Regions from separate parts of the Homo sapiens genome. Here region 1 is linked to region 2. Evidence: promoter capture Hi-C in human tissues and cell types (Jung and others, 2019). All regions are on one chromosome and are shown on one strand. The core of a region is centred on a gene start or on the middle of the fragment in contact, and the rest is flanking DNA. Distances in the headings are between cores, read along the strand shown.

Region 1 (3,525 bases), core at 945-3,444, 1.1 Mb before region 2:
GAGGCTCCAGCCAATGGGTCTGTGCTCTAGGACATGGTGCACATTTCTGGAAGTCAGACTGGAAATGGCACCTGGGTGGCTGGCTGCACTTCATCCGTCAAGCTCCTGTCCTGGGGGCAGAGCAAGCAGCTTCTGAGGGTGGGGTGGGGAGGACAGAAAAGAACAGGGAGGAGGGGCACGGCAGATCACAAGGTCCCCTACAGAAGCCTAGAACAGTGTGTCTGAACCCAAAGAGCCTCAGACCGCAGACTTCTAGGTATGAAAAGGACACTGAAGCCCAGAGAAGGCAGTGATATGCCTGAAGTCGCACAGCAGTTTAATGGCAGATTTGCAAGTTGATTCTTGGTCTTTGGACTGCCAGGCTACATGTGGGCACATTAGAGCCTGCGAGGGGAATGGCACCCCCTGTCACGGCACGTGTGGTCTAGCCTGGTCAGACTGCCCTCAAAGCCACGTGACCGAGGCCCACACGTGTTCATGGGCTAACAGTGACCAGTGAGGCCGAGCCCATGGGATGGGCACTTTGGCAGGGAAGGCTCACTGCCTTTGTCTGAGGCAGCATCCACATGGAGGCACCAGGGTCGAAAGCCTTAGTCTCAGCCTCCGGGCCCAGCCAGAGCCTAGCCCCTGATGCAGGCCTGGCCCCTCAGCAGCCCTGGTAGAAGGAATCTTCTCTCAAATCTCCAGGCAAGTCCTCCTTTGCCCACAGCCAGGCCGCACCCCAGCGGGGCTGGTGGGTGGTAAGAAGCCCCACGAGCTACTGAGTCCATGGCAGGGAAGCCAGGCTGGGGACGCTGGCTGGAACTGCGGCCCTAAAACCTGCCCTCCTCTCAGGATATCAGACTTTCAAAGGCCAGGATGTGCTGAGACGGGTCCCAGTGGCTGCTCGGAGACCTGCTGGGGCATGCCCTAGGGTCACTGCCTGGAGGTGTTGGGGAAGCGGGCACCTGCCTTGCCTGGAGTGCCAAGAGGGAGAGGCCTTTGAAGAGGCCTCTGTGCTGGCTGCAAGATCCTTGTCCCAGCCACTGCCAGGCAGCTGCACAGGGCAGGGACTCATCCCGTGCCATGCAGGGCCCCTCGAACAGGTTGGGTGGGGGTGGTATGTGCTGTCCCCTCAACCCTGGCAACCCTGCCCACTGGGAAAGGTTATTTCAGATCTCTCAGACCGTAGCGGGGTGGGTGAGAGGAGGGTTATAGGAGGTGCCTGTGGAGATCAGAGCTGGGAAACCAGCTTCTCAGCCTCCTTCTCCACTCCTGGGCATATGAAGCACAGCCAGGCCACCCGCCTCCAAGGCTCCCACGTTGCAGAGCTGACTGACACCGGGAAGCTCAGGCTTCTGCAGCTAGAGAGGACTTCTCAGCCATCACTCTGCTTTACAGAAGGAGAAACCAAGGTTGGGGAAGGGCAGATTCTGGATTCCTGGCCATCAAGAGAGCACCACGCTGCTCTAGAGGCTGCTGGGCTGAGGAGGGGATGAGGGTGTCAGGGCTGGCCCCACCCTAGGGTAAAGCTATCCAGCCGCCAGGAGAGAGATGCCCGTGGAGGACTCCCCTCCCCTACTTCATCTCTCTGTTTGAGTCCCACTTCTGGGCCACATCCCTTTCTAGGAGCCACCAGACCAAAACCAGACTGGAACATTCTCCCTGGCTCACAACTGGCCTGAGCAGTCCTCCTCTTTCATCCCAACTTTCTTAATCCAGATTCCCAGGAGTCCAGATGTATCTCCCTGGGGCTGTGGGAGGGAGGGCCCACCCACTCCAGCCCTCAGCACTCCTTGGCTTTATGGATTCAGCATCTGCTTAAGATTTTAGAGGAAAATCTAACCAGCTAAATCTAGACAGTGAAAACCCTGTCTGACCTACTCCCTGCACAACTGGGGAAACTGAGGCCTTGTCAGAATTTAGTCCAAGATGGATTCGTTAGCAGCAAAGTACTCTCTGTTCAGTCTCTCTCTCCTCAATGCACACGCGTACATGTACACACACACACACACACACACACACACACACAGGCACATTCACTCCTGGCCAGAAGTGTGAGCGTGCCCATTCTCATCCACACTCAAGAAAAGAGTTTTCTATTTTTTTTGTGTTGTTTTTCATTTTCTTTTTTTTTCTTAAAAAGGACTTATCCAAATAATCTGGATAATAAATCGTTTGCGTTTCCTAAGAAACTGGGTTTTTCTTTTCCCTTGTGGTTTTGGTGTTTTTCTTCTTCTTTGAGCCTTACTAGCGGTCTGAAGCTTTCTTTCTTTCCTTTGCCTTTTTGCTTTTGGACAGGAGAAAGCAGTTTGTCTGAATTGTACTTGACTCTTCAAAGAGGAAAAGGGCGTGGAAGCAGAAGGGGGCTTAGGGAGAAAGGAGAAATCAATAACGGAGGAAGAAAACGAGAACGGAACTAAAACCCATGGAACCCAGAAGTTGCCGGGCTGAGGGTGGGGGGGTGGAGGGAGGGCCTCCTGCCTGCCCGCCCCCAACCAACTGCCTCCAGAGGCTTCAGCCCCATCTTGGTTCCTGCACAGAGATCTCAGGCCAAGAGAGAGAGAGCGGGGGTGGAGAAGGAACTCTGGGCCCTCTAACAACAGAGTACATGGATTTTCTAAGGCTGGTCATGGTCTGGGGGTTGGGGAAGAGGAGGAGGAGAGGCAACTCTGGCTGTGAACTGGGAGGAAGCAGAGGCCAAACATCCCCATCAGGAGGCTGCCCCAGGCCTCCCTGCACCTGCCTCCTGCCAGTCCCTGCCAGCCCGCTGTCCCAGGAGGCTCAGCAGTCCCCGTCGGTGGCCACAGCCACCAGCATCTCACTCTTGCCCATCTCCTCCAAGGCACTCGCCAGGCTGTTGAGGTCCCCATCGTCCTGCTGCAGAGCTTCCCAGAGGTCCAGGATCACACCCGTGGGGCTCGCTTTGGTGGCAAAGTAATTCAGGTACCTGGCAGAGGGAAGGAGGGCACTGAGGTTCCCAAGCACTTAGCCCCTCCCCGGAGCCTGGAGGTGAAGGGGCACAAGGGGAAGTGGGAAGGCTGTGAGCTTTGGTGTCCCACTGTCCTGGGTCTGAATTGCAGCTACTGTGCTGCAGTCTGTGTGGCTCTCGGCAATTCAGAACCTATGGCTCAGAATCTCAGTCTCCTTGTCTCTAAAATGGGAACAATGCCAGTTACCGCTCAGCAAGATCCAAGATCATATAAAGTAAGGGTCTAGCGTTGTCTCTAGCATGTAACCATCTTGTTCATCATCATCATTATTATCATTGAAAGACACTGGCCCCAAGAGAGAATGACCACGTCTAGCATGTGGTCATTCCTCCCACCCGTGTTCCCTCCTGCTCCCATGAACTCCCCTGATAGGAGGAATAAAGCCTTAGCCATCTTTGTAAGTCCTATTCATTTCTAGTAAAATGTCTTATCTAAAGCATATTTTATTTATTTATTTTTTGAGACTCAATGCAGGTTTATTACACATCTTTCAATAAGTATAATATTTATTATCATTGGCCTTATATTTATCCAGCACTTATCCAGCATTTGA
Region 2 (3,250 bases), core at 24-2,523:
ATTTTGAAAGCCTGTTTCTGGACTAGTTTTGTTTGGTTTTCTATACGAATTTTAGGAACAAATAGGGTAATTAAAAAAAAAGAACGAAACCACACACGACCTATTAATCCTATTAGTACTTTTATTGGGATTATGTTAAATTTAAATTTTACTAAAGGAGAATTGAGATCTTCATGAACCCACAGACGTCATTCATCTTTCCATTAGACTGTTTTATTTGTAAAATGAGAGTAATAATAGTACCAATCTCGTGGGACTGTCCTGAGAATTAAATGAGAAAATGCATGCGAAATATACTGGGGTGAACACGTTGCTTTGCCACTTAGCTGTGTGAACTTGGGCATGGTAGGTTATTCTGAACATTGCTCTCTCATTTGTCAATAAGGATAATACTAGCATCTGGAGTCACAGGACTCCAATGACGGTGAAATTAGACAAAGCGTGCAAAGTACCCAGTGCTCTGCCTGGAACATAAGTGCACAATAAATATTAGCTGTTTTTCTGTTTTTCTAAAACATAGGCCACCCCAGGGCAAGGAAGTGCGACTCAAAGCAAAAGCAGCTGGGCGCGGTGGCTCACGCCTCTCATCCCAGCATTTTGGAAGGCCGAGGCCAGCGGATCACTTGAGGTCAGAAGTTCGAGACCAGCCTGGCCAACACGGTGAAACCTGTCTCTGTAAAAATACAAAAAAATTAGCCAGGTGTGGTGACATGCGCCTGTAGTTCCAGCTACTCGGGAGGCCGAGGTATGAGAATCGCTTGAATCCGGGAGGTGGAGGTTGCAGTGAGCCGAGATCGCGCCACTGCACTCCAGCCTGGGCGACAAAGTGAGACTCCGCCTCAAAAAAAAAAAAAAAAAAAAAAAAAGCAAGGAAGAAAAAAAGCAAAAGCTTGGAGGGATCCACCTCAAGTGGAGGGCCCCAAGGTCAACTCATCTTTCCCAGGACCTATGTCACCGTCGGTACCCACTTCTGACTTTCCTGGTGCGTCTGGAATGGGAAGCCGCGATCCCGAGTGTACCAGGCCGCTCAGGGACTCCAGGACCCAGCCCCGGACCCAGGGTTCCGGCGCTGCCACGTCTCGCGCGGTCAGCTAGCCAGACGGGAGCAGGCGGGGCCGAGGCGGGGCCAGACCCCGAGCGCGCTTTGTCACGCCTTATGCCCGCCCCTCCGCGGCCCGAGTCGCTGGTGGGACGGCACCGGGGCAGAGAGGCGTAACGCTGTGAGGGGGCGGGGCCCATTACGCGCCCGGAAGTCCCGGGGAGGGGTGTGACGTACATCCGGCGAGTAGCTGGCGGTCCCGGGTGCTGCTGGTTAGTGTGCTCTGAGGGAGGGTCCGAGCCAGCCGCTGTTTTGCCGGAGGAGCCCCTCAGGCCGTGAGTCTGAGGGTCGCGTCGGGGAGGGGAGTTGGGGCTCGAGGGGCTGGGACGGAAGGCGGGGAGGTCGGAGCGGAGGCTGGCCCTGGCGGGGTTGGGTGGGGGGGAAGTGACACGCAGGCGGTTCTGTGGGGCCGCGGGGCTGATTCTGGGCGGGGACGGGACAACTTGGCCAGATCTGCTCCGTCCCCTGCTGTCCTCTTTGCCTGGGGTCCACTTGCATTCCGCTCGGGGGTCTCGCAGCTGCTGGGCCGGATAACAGTTTCTTGTCTGTACCGTGCGCTCCGGTTTACGAAATGGCTCCATGTCCTCTGTCTCGGAAGAGCCTCACAGCCCTCGGTGAGGCGGGTGGGAGCCCTTTATGATTATCCTTGTTTTGTAGACTCGGAGACTGAGGCTGGCCAAGGCTCCGCAGTTAGCGAGTGTGAGCGCTCGAACCTGGTCTACAGGCCCCTAGTCCAGGGCTTACCCCCAAGTCAGCGCTTGGTTGTCTTCCGATGGCCCGGGTCGAACCCTGTATTTTCTCCTTCTCCCTTCCCCTTTTCCCCTGTCTGGTCTCTGCATGGAAAAATTTCCTTATGTGCATTTGACATGGATTAGCGTTTTCTTCACGATTCTAGCCAGTGGGTCAGGAGCATCTTTGTCTTGTTGATTCCATCGGCTTCGGTTGCGACAGGGGGCTTAGGGAGATTCGCCATGGGGCTGACCTTTGACATTTACCCCGCAGCTAAGCAGAGTTAGCTAAAAGCCAGCCGCCTACTACCCCAAATCTGCCTGGAATGGCGTCTTAAAGTTGCCCTGATTATGTATAACAAGTAATGCGTAAATTTTTAAATTGGCTAATGGTCAGATTGGTGCCCTCCTTTTCTATTAACATTTGTTTGAATCATTTAGCCCTGGAATTCGCAAGTTTTCATTTTAGGTACATTAATAGTGTTTTGTTGATAGTTTAGAGACCTACCTTAAATTTTAGATTACTCTTAACTTCTCGTAAGGTGGTACAATGGACCAAGAATAGAAAATAAATAGAATGCTAGTTATTAAAATACCATTCAAAAGATGTGATGAGTTGTAAGGAAGAGAACTTCGGAAGATCATCCTCTGTGTAGTTGGTGGGTTAAAGAAGTTTTAGTTTTTTTTTTTTTCCCCAGCAATTTTGTGGTTTGGGTTTGAATTTTATGTACTGTTAACAGGAAGAGCTTAGGCTTTGGTGTTAGAGATGAGGGTTTAAGCCCTGGCACTATTACTTTTTCAACTGAGCCGTCTTAAAGGACTCAGCAAAACTAGGAGTATCCTCATCTTTATCTTGTTAAATGAGGCCAGTGATCCTTGCCTGGTAGGGTTGGTGTGGGGATGAAATGAGATGTACAAGTACTGTGCAGATTGTAAAACTACTGATGAGTTGGTACAAATCCTAAGATCTTAAGGAGAGAGGAGCCACCAAGGCCATTTTCAGCTGCTGAGGAGGCTGAGGTGGGAGGATCTCTTGAGCCTGGGAGGTTGAGGCTGCAGTGAGCCATGATGGCAACACTGCACTTCAGCCTTGGAGACAGAGTCTTGGTCTGTCTTAAGAAAAGGGGGGCGGGGGCATTTTCTTAACTTTGGGTAGCAGTGCAACCCGACTCTTTGGATCTAGTAAGGGTTTTTATTATTTTTAGCTCACCTGAAGAGTTTCTTCAGTCAGCCTCCACTCTCATCACTCCTTTACAACCCAACACTTCTATATACATTTGTACTACACTGGTTTTCAGTCAATACTTTACAGACTTGTAAAAAATGTTTACATCACTTTAGAAATTTTTCTTTCTTTCTTTTTTTTGAGATGGAGTTTTTGCTCTTGTTGTCCAGACTGGAGTGCAATGTCATGACCTCGGCT

What was found. Contacts are between HindIII fragments. The study calls those that stand out against the background at their distance.
Region 1: a contact is called between a fragment that was not itself captured here and the fragment with the promoter of SAR1A in region 2, in 1 of the 25 tissues and cell types used here (hippocampus).

What each region holds. Positions count from the first base shown.
Region 1 is chr10:71,298,516-71,302,040 of GRCh38, reverse strand. It overlaps UNC5B (unc-5 netrin receptor B), which reads right to left. Exons shown (of 17, transcript NM_170744.5): 17 at 1-2,929. The coding sequence ends at 2,764. Among named protein-coding and RNA genes, the nearest start is that of SLC29A3, 19 kb to the left of the region's middle. The HindIII fragment of the contact is 7,838 bases long and covers 1-3,525 here.
Region 2 is chr10:70,168,537-70,171,786 of GRCh38, reverse strand. It overlaps SAR1A (secretion associated Ras related GTPase 1A), which reads left to right and starts at 1,273. Exons shown (of 7, transcript NM_020150.5): 1 at 1,273-1,374. RefSeq lists enhancers at 779-858, 992-1,648, 1,649-2,307 and a silencer at 989-1,348. The HindIII fragment of the contact is 10,715 bases long and covers 1-3,250 here.